2 separate regions of the Homo sapiens genome follow, and region 1 is linked to region 2. Evidence: promoter capture Hi-C in 16 types of primary human blood cells and fetal thymus (Javierre and others, 2016). All regions are on one chromosome and are shown on one strand. Each heading gives the region's core, a stretch centred on a gene start or on the middle of the fragment in contact. The rest is flanking DNA. Distances are from core to core; before and after follow the strand shown. Region 1 has its middle 21 kb from the start of MDS2. Region 2 holds the start of ASAP3 (ArfGAP with SH3 domain, ankyrin repeat and PH domain 3).

Region 1 (4,578 bases), core at 875-3,374, 120 kb before region 2:
GGGTGAAGGTACAGGCTGTACTGGATGGTGGGGAGAGGAAGGGAAAGTAGACGAGGCAGGAAAAGTGGCCAGTGGGTCATCTTGGCATCTTTGCCAGTGTCATGGTCAGCAATTCCCTCCTCACCAAAACATCCAGAAACACCCACTCCCGAGCCTCGTGTAGTACGCAGAGTTCACAGTGAATTAGTCACCATCATCTTAACCCTGATAGTTGAGAAATTAAAATGTGTTGAGAAAGGTAAGACATTCTAATGGGCAGCTGACCCCAGGCTCTCATGTGGAGAGAGCCATAGGAGGGTTCTCTGGCCAACATCCATGCATTGGAGGGGAAACCAGAGCCCTGGAATCATGGAAGCAAGGAGCATTCGCTGGTATGTCCAGGCGTGTGTTTGGTGACTCCAGTGATGTGTGGTGCCAACAATAATTATCAGTAGCTAATTATTCGCTGACCTCTTCACTTTAACAATTATTCATCCCCCCATCAAATCATCTGTCCATAGCCTACACAGCCATCCACCTCTCAATTCCTTCATTCATCCATTCATTCATTTTCTCCCCATTCCCCCATCCATCCTCCACCATTGACTCTGCACATGGTCCTGTGCTGGATGCCTGACATGCAACTACAAGACTCAGATCTTGCCTTCAAACCTGGTGAGGTATTCAGACACTTAGTCTAAGCAAGAGAGGTAAGTGCGGTGATGGAGTGTTCTAGGAGGGGCAGTGAGAGCTCCAAGGAGGAAATGCCTAATTCTGCTGGAGGGAGTCAGAAAAGGCTTCCCGGAGGAAGGAACACTGCAGCTGGTCTTCATAGAGGAGCAGGGGCTCATGAAGCCAGAAGAAGGAAGCCTGGCTGATGAGATGGGCAGCGATTCAGACCAGCTAGGGACACAAAAGAACTTGTCACAGAAGCCGATGGGAGGAAATCAAGGAGAACTGGCCTCTAGCCAAGATTTCACCCCAGGTTCTCAGCAGGAGTGACTTAGGAATGGTGTCAACTTGGAAGTTTGCACCATTTTTACCTGGCCTTGCCTTCTCTTGGCACAGTGCAGTCTCCAGGACATCAGACCTGAGGAGCATCCAAGTTAGTCCCCTTATTTCAAGTCAGGGAAACTGAGGCCTGAAGTGGCGATGAGACATGCCAAAGTTACACAGAGAGTTAGGGGATCCAAACCCAGGTCTCTTACTCTCAGGCTAGTGTACTGTCCACTGGAGTCTCCCTCCCCCATCCGGAGCACACACTAGATTCTAAACACTCACAACCCCTCAGTGGCTGGCATAGTGCTGGGCCCAGAGAAAGTGACCTCTCCTACTTCCACTGGGTACCTGCCCTGTCCCCACAAATAATCAGATTGATAGAACTCATTCACACTCCCTCTATTCTCCCATTTAATCCCCATAACAGTCCCAGGGGACTGGAATTACTATTCCTTTTTGCAGATGGGGAAAGAGGGCAGAAGGGGCTTGCCCAGAGTCACCCAGCTCAGACTGGGGAACGGGTTTGCCCAGAGTCACACAGTTCAAATGCAGCAGAGCCAAGGTCCTGACTATACCCTGTACTTGATCTAAGACCCTAGGTGGCACTCACATAGCCTTGAATGTTCTGGCCCCCAATGGACCCTGTGCCATTGAAGTCAGGGACTGTGGACAGGTATGTTCTGCAGGGACAGAAACCAAACCAGGGAACAGGGCTGGGAGGTGGGGGAAGGACTCAGGAAAGGAAACCTTGTTTTCACCTGTAACCTGCTCTGCCCCGCCCAGCAGTGGAAAATGTGTGTCAGGGGAAGCTGCTGCCTGGGGACCAGGCAGGTGTGCGTGGGCAACAGTGTGTGGAGGGGGCGCCACGGGAGGGCAGGATGTGCTGGGGTTGGGGGCAAGGTCAGGGGTGCTGGAGCAGGGTTCAAGAACCTAGAGTAAGACTCTCACTTCTGGGCCAGGCGTGGTGGTTCACGCCTGTAATCCTAGCACTTTGGGAGGCCAAGGCGGGTGGATCACGAGGTCAGGAGATCGAGACCATCCTGGCTAACATGGTGAAACCCCATCTCTACTAAAAATACAAAAAAATTAGCCGGGCGTGGTGGCACATGCCTGTAGTCCCAGCTACTCGGGAGGCTGAGGCGGGGGATCGCTTGAATACGGGAGACAGAGGTTGCAGTGAGCCGAGATCATATCACTGCACTCCAGTCTGGGCGACAGAGCGAGACTCTGTCTCAAAAAAAAAAAAAAGACTCTCACTTCTAGAAGGATGGGCACACTGTCCTATGAAAGCTGTCCCCAACCTCTACATCCCAGACCTTCTTGGCCTCAGCCAATTCTCTGCTCAGTGGGTCATTCAACAAGCGTGCATTGAGCACCTGCTGCATGCTAGGACCCAAGGATGCAGAATAGCCCCTTTCCTACCCAGAGAAGAGTACAGTCTGGAAGAGACAGGCAAGGCAGAGAGCTCCAATACCATGTGGGTAACACAATCCAGCGAGAGGCTGAGTCAGTGGTCAGGGAGGCATTCTGGAGGCCAGTAGGCCAAGCAGGTAATAATAACCACTCTAGGCCACTCATGGAGGCCCACACCCGTTATCCTAGCACTTTGGGAGGCTGAGGTGGGAGGATCACTTAAGGCCAAGAGTTTCAGACCAGCCTGGGCAACATTGCGAGACCCCATCTCTACAAAAAATTTAAACATTAGCCAGGTGTGGTGTCATGTGCCTGTAGTCCTAGCTACTGTGGAGTCTGAGATGGGAGGATCACCTGAGCCCAGGAGTTTGAAACTGTAGCGCACAATGATCGTGCTACTGCATTCTAAAATCATCCCTATCTCTAAAATAATATAATAATAATAACCACTTTTGTGTGCTTACTACAAGCCAAATTAAAGAGCTAAGGCCCCGTAAGGCTTTTTAATACCTTTCCATCCTCAAACAACCCTGTGAGCTAGGAACTGCTAGTATTCCCCTTTTACAGTTGAGGAAATTGAGGCATTGAGAAGGGAAGAACTTGCCCAAGTTCTCACTGCTAGATGCTAGGAAATGGCACGGCCAGGACTTGAAACCAGGCGGTCTGCTCTTACCTACTCCACTAAGGAAGGGGAAGTGGGAGCTGGTGTTGGGAGAAAAGGCGGGGGGGAACATGGAGGGAGCAACCGGAGGAAAAGCCCAAACAGAAGATGATGTGCTGGAGCCGAGAGGGGAGGGGAGGGAAGTCGCTGAGTGGAGGGGCCAGGGAGCAGCCAGAGCCCAGGCAAAAAGCCCCTCAAAGCATTGCCGTGGGAATGGGGACCTATACACGGTTGTTCCAGAGAAGAGCCCCCCCTTAGAAGTGGTGATCAGTGGGGGCCCAAACAGACAATTACATGTGATTTAATTTTTTTTTTTTTAGACGGAGTCTCGCTCTGTCCCCCAGGCTGGAGTGCAGTGGCGGCATCTCGGATCACTGCAAGCTCCGCCTTCTGGGTTCACGCCATTCTTCTGCCTCAGCCTCCCGAGTAGCTGGGACTACAGGTGCCCGCTACAATGCCTGGCTATTTTTTTTGTATTTTTAGTAGAGACGGGGTTTCACCGTGTTAGCCAGGATGGTCTAGATCTCCTGACCTCGTGATCCACCCGCCTCGGCCTCCCAAAGTGCTGGGATTACTGGGCGTGAGCCACTGAGCCCGGCCTTTTTTTTTTTTTTTGAGACAGGGTCTCGCTCTGTCACCCAGACTGGAGTGTGGTGGCATGATCTTGTCTCACTGCAACCTCCGCCTCCCGGATTCAAGCGATTCTCCTGCCTCAGCCTCCCAAGTAGTTGGGACTATATGTGTGCACCACCACGCCTGGCTAATTTTTGTATTTTTAGTGGAGATGGAGTTTCACCATATTGGCTAGGCTGGTCTCAAACTCCTGACCTCAGGTGATCCACCCGCCTCGGCCTCCCAAAGTGCTGGGATTACAGGCGTGAGCCACTGCGCCTGGCCTGATTTAGATGCTATTAGTTTCCTAGGCTGCTATAACAAAGTACCACAAGCTGGGAGGCCTAAACCAACAAAAACGTTTTCTCTCCCAGTTCCAAAGACCTGAGATTGAAATCCAGACGTCTTCAGGGCTGTGCTATCCCTAAGAATCTGAGTAGAGTCCTTCCTTGCCCCTTCCTAGCTTCTGGTGGTGGCCGTCAGTTCTTGGCATTCCCTGGTTTTCGACAAACACCCCTCCAGTTTCAGCCTCCGTCATCTTGTGGCATTCTCCCTGTGTGTCTCTCTCCTCTTCGTATAATGACACCAGTCATATGGGATGAAGGGCCCATCCTGCTTCAGTATGACCTCATCTGAACTAATTATACCTGCCACGACCTTATTTCCAAGTAAGGTCACATTCTGAGGTACTACGGGTTAGGACCTCAACATATATTTTGGGGGGACACAATTCAACCCATAAAATGTCATTAAAGGACTTTTCATATAAACAAATGTCAAATCTGAAAAACTTCTATGCAGTTCATGTGTCCCAGTTTGATGTTCAGAAAATATAGCCTCAATATATCTGTCCACTACACTAGAACTTTACCCTAGTGGGTACTAAATGAAGGTTTGAGAAATACTTGACTTGT
Region 2 (4,647 bases), core at 674-3,173:
GCTCCTAAAAGTCAAGCAAGAAAAGTGCCTAAGCTCAGGAGTTTGAGGCTGCCTTGAGCTATGATCATTGCACTGCACTTCAGCCTGGGCGACAGAGTGAGACCTTGTCTCTAAAAATAAATAACAAGAAAAGTGCCTATTTGGTTTCAACAGGAGAAGTTGACCTTGAAAGAACTCTTGGAATAGTTGTCGTCTCTATCAGATGGTACACATTTTTTTCAACTTTTAATTCTTTTTTCTTTCTTTTCTTTTTCTTTTTCTTTTTTTTTTTTTTTGAGACAGGGTCTCACTTTGTCACCCAGGCTGGAGTGCAATGGCAGGATCTCAGCTCACTGCAAACTTGACCTCCCAGGTTTAAGCCATTTTCCTGCCTCAGCCCACCAAGTAGCTGGGACTACAGGCAAGAGCCACCACGCCGGGCTAATTTTTGTATATTTTGTAGAGACAAGGTTTCGCCATGTTGCTCAGGTTGGCCTTGAACTCCTGAACAATCCGCTCACCTCGGCTTCCCAAAGTGCTAAGATTACAGGCATGAGCCATCGCTCCCGTCAACTTTTAATTCTATTACACAGTAGTATATGGTCATTGTATAAAAGTTAGGATATACAGATTCACCAAAAGAAAAGAAAGTTACTCATAATGTCTTCAGCTAGTGCATATCTGTCTTCAGCTAGTGCATAAAATGTTGCTGGTGCAACATTTTAGTGCATATCTTTCCGGATTTTTTCTTTTCTTTTCTTTTCTGTGCGAGAAAAGAAAAGATTCTCTCAATCGCCGCCCTGTGGGGTAAAATACCATGAGGCCATTTTAAGAGGGGGAAATGCAGGCTTAGAGAAGCAAGCAATTTATCCAAAGTAACCAAGATTGGAATCTAGGTTCCTCTGACTCCAAAACCAATGTTCCTTGCTGCGGTGCTTTCCTAGCTTTTTACTTGGAGAACTTTTCCCCAGAGGACCTCAGGCTTCAGAACTAAACCTAAGTGGATTTCTATCCTGAACCCCATCCCTCATCCGCCCCAAAGGATGGTGAGCCAGATTAAGGGGTGAAAGGCAGGAGCAGGAAGAGTAAAGGCGTGGGTGCGATCTATGGTCGGGTAAGAGGGAACTAGTACACGCACGTGTTCGGTTCTTCGCAACATCACAATCAAGCGGGCATCAGGCTTCCCATTGTACAGATAAGGAAACTGAGGTTCCAGAAGAGAAGTAATTTTCCCCAAGTCACACAGCTAGCCAGGGGCCCCGATCCACACATCCCCGGGGCGGCGGGGGTTATCAGGAGGGAGTCTCCGGATGCCTGCAAAGCTGAGGCTGAGAGCTGGGCGTACGCAGCAAAGGAGGGGTGGGGCGATTCGGGGCGGAGCGAGGCAAGGAGATTGGGCGGGACTGGGGAGAGAGGAGGGAAGGGTGGCGGGGGGGTGGTAGGGCAGAAGGGGCGAGGTCATGGGGAACTCGGAACGAATCAGCAGAGGAGGGAGGAAGAGGGAGGGGGCTCTAAGACTCGACGCGGAGATGGAACAGCCTGGGCCGTGCAAGGGAGGAGGATTTGGAAGACCCAGAGCGGGATGAAACGGGACAGAGCCCTGAAGGGGCAGGGATGGGGGAAGGCGGAGGAGTTTCTACTGAGGCCAGGGGTGGGGCATCGCGCCAGGGGGCGGGGTCTGAGGCGGTGAGGGGCTGGGGGCGTGGCCTAGGGGGCCGGCGAGGGGCCGGGGAAGCGGCCTGACGCGGTGCGGGGCCGGGACCGGGGCCGGAGCCTGGACCTTGGCGGTGGAGGAAGGCGAGGAGCCGGGGGCGGGGCCGTCCCAGCTGAGGAGCGGAGAGCGGCTGGAGGGTCGGGGGCGGGGCGTGCGGAGGGGCGGGGCGTGTGGAGGCCGGGACGGCGCCCCCGGCCGGCGGTGAGGCCGGCTCAGCGCGGAGCAGCTCAGTGCCCCCCGCGCCCCGCTCCGGCAGCTCCACGCTCGCGCCCGCCATGCCGGAGCAGTTCAGCGTCGCCGAGTTCCTGGCCGTCACCGCGGAGGACCTCAGCTCCCCGGCTGGGGCCGCCGCCTTCGCCGCCAAGATGCCCCGGTACCGAGGGGCGGCGCTGGCGCGGGAGGAGGTGAGGGGGCCGAGGCGGGAGGGGTCGGGGGTCGGCGCCGGGCCTGGCCTTGACCTCCACAGGCGTGTCGCACCCGAGCTGCGATGGCCCTTCACCGCGCCCCGAAACCTGCCCCCTCCCTAGGTCTGGGAGGACCGAGCGCATCTCCAACAGCTGCGTCCTCACCGTCGAGGCGGGGGAAGGCCCGAGGGACCGTTTTGGGGGGCCTCGAGGTCTCTTCGATGACAAACTCCACAGGTCGGGGGACGTACCCCAAGTGCCCCGCGTGACCGCCTCATCACATATGTGTTTGCCTAGCGCCTTCCAGCCTCAGTTTGCGTTTTCATCTTCGGAGCCCCACAAGTGTGCCCCCCGAGTCACTCCCCTTCTGAGAGGCAGGCTTCCCGCCTCAGTCCTGAACTTTCTTCCCCCCGGCTGCAGAGAGGCCCCCTCCCGCTTGCGGCTGGTTCGGAGATTTGGCCCGCGTTTGTGGAATGAATGCGGATGGGAAGGCGCCAGGAGCCGGGGTTCACCTTGGCCGGGCTGTTGGCAAGTTTATCGTCTCCTCTCCCCTCCCCTCTCCTCTTTGTCTTTCCCAGCAAAGCGTCCCAGGCCTTTTCTTTCGGTCTTGCAGGCTGCCCCACCCCATTCCCATGCTCTTCGGAGTTCCTTCCATTCCTCTTCTCTGAACCTGCTGCAGCTTTCCGCAGCTCCTCTGCAAAGAATATTCTAGGACAGACACCCCGTGGCCTTGGTCCAACGGAGAATAATGTGTTTTTGCAGCTCCCCATCCAAAGGATGCCCTCAATTTGGGTGGCATTTTGGACCTCAGCAACGGCTCTAGCCTTCCACCCTTCACCTTAAGTGTACTAGGCACCCACTGCGTGGCAGATACAAAGCTCAGTAGTTCATAACACCCTGCGCCAGTGTCAGGAAATCTGTCCTCTTCTCTCTTGTCAGGGTGACCCTCCATCTCGGAGTCTGTTTGTATCACTTTGTAAGGGTGATAGAGGATTGTGGAAGGAGCATCGACTTTGGGGAAGGCAGACCTTTTTTCTTTCCTTTTTTTTTTTTGAGACGGAGTCTCGCTGTGTCGCCCAGGCTGGAGTGCAGTGACGCGATCTTGGCTCAATGCAAACTCCGCCTCCCAGGTTCACACCATTCTCCTGCCTCAGCCTCCCGAGTAGCTGGGACTACAGGCTCCCGCCACTACGCCTGGCTAATTTTTTTTTTGTATTTTTAGTAGAGACGGGGTTTCACCGTGTTAGCCAGGATGGTCTCGATCTCCTGACCTCATGATCCGCCCGTCTCGGCCTCCCAAAGTGCTGGGATTACAGGCGTGAGCCACCGCGCCGGCCAAGGCAGACCTTTTTTCAAACGCTGGCTCTGCAGTTTGCCATTTGGGTGAACGTGGGCATGTGACCTGTCCTGTCATCTGTGGAATGGGGGTAATAATGTGTACCTCACATGAGACAATGCATATAAAGCATGCATCTTTTTTTTGGAGACAGAGTCTTGCTCTGTCTCCCAGGCTGGAGTACAGTGGTGCGATCTCAGCTGACTGCAATCTCTGCCTCCCGGGTTCAAGCAATTCTCATTCCTCAGCCTCCCAAGCAGCTGGAATTACAGGCATGCTCCACCACACCCGGCTAATATTTGTATTTTTAGTAGAGACAGGGTTTCACCATGTTGGTCAGGCTGTTCTTGAACTCCTGAGCTCAGGCAGTCTATCCGCCTTGGCCTCTCAAAGTACTAGGATTATAGGTGTGAGCCGCTGCACTGGCCCATGCCTCTTGATAAATGGAATGATTATCGTCAGATTAATCGGCAGATCTCTTTAGACAGTGATTGGGTCTCTTTTGTCTTCATTTGTCTCACAGAGCCTCACCTTGTCTCATTTGTCTCACGGAGCCTAGCCTACTACTTTGCACATAGTAGGGGTACATGTTTTATTAAAATAAGAAGCAGCCGGTCAGATTTGGCTTCCTTCCTTGGGCAGAGTCCACTGCCTGTGGATGTGGGTTATATTTTACTGTGGGGCTCACAGGGAAACACTGCTGTCCAGCCCATCCTTTGGAGAGCTTCCTGAGATTTGTCTTCATAGCCTCACATTTCATGACCCAGAATAGCTCAGTGCCATCCACATTCTTAGGGATTTCATGGTTCATCCTCCTCCCCAGGTTGTTCATTAGAATCTTAGAGCAGGAGAAGGGGCTCCAATATGAACCTTATCCATGGACAGAAATGCCCATTTATGCCCATACATCTGGCCTTGCCTGGCTGTGTAAGTGTAAGCACTGTGTGTTGGGGGAGGGACCCTTAGAATGGGTCTGGAGGCCACAGCAGGCTCTGTTCAGGGCTCAGCTTTGCCCCAGTTCAGGCAAGACAAAACCCATCCTCCTTTGCCTTCAGATTTTTGGTTTGGTGCACGTAGAGGTTCATTGTTACAACAGAAAGGCTTGCGGCACCCAAACACAGCTTTTCTCTTCAGCATCTCAGGGCCCAAAAAGTTAGAGTCTGAACTTTGGATTAGACTTCCCTGAGGTTTCCTGTTTGGTTTTGCATTTGCAT

Evidence for each region. The method cuts DNA at HindIII sites, captures the fragments that hold promoters and counts their contacts. A CHiCAGO score of 5 or more calls a contact.
Region 1: a contact is called between a fragment that was not itself captured here and the fragment with the promoter of ASAP3 in region 2, in 1 of 17 cell types (neutrophils). The highest score is 5.7, in neutrophils.

The regions. Positions count from the first base shown.
Region 1 is chr1:23,604,512-23,609,089 of GRCh38, reverse strand. No RefSeq gene overlaps it. Among named protein-coding and RNA genes, the nearest start is that of MDS2, 21 kb to the left of the region's middle. The HindIII fragment of the contact is 5,891 bases long and covers 1-4,578 here.
Region 2 is chr1:23,481,455-23,486,101 of GRCh38, reverse strand. It overlaps ASAP3 (ArfGAP with SH3 domain, ankyrin repeat and PH domain 3), which reads left to right and starts at 1,923. Exons shown (of 25, transcript NM_017707.4): 1 at 1,923-2,097. The coding sequence starts at 1,969. RefSeq lists an enhancer at 1,059-1,158 and silencers at 1,349-1,398, 1,409-1,518, 1,639-2,088. The HindIII fragment of the contact is 9,206 bases long and covers 1-4,647 here.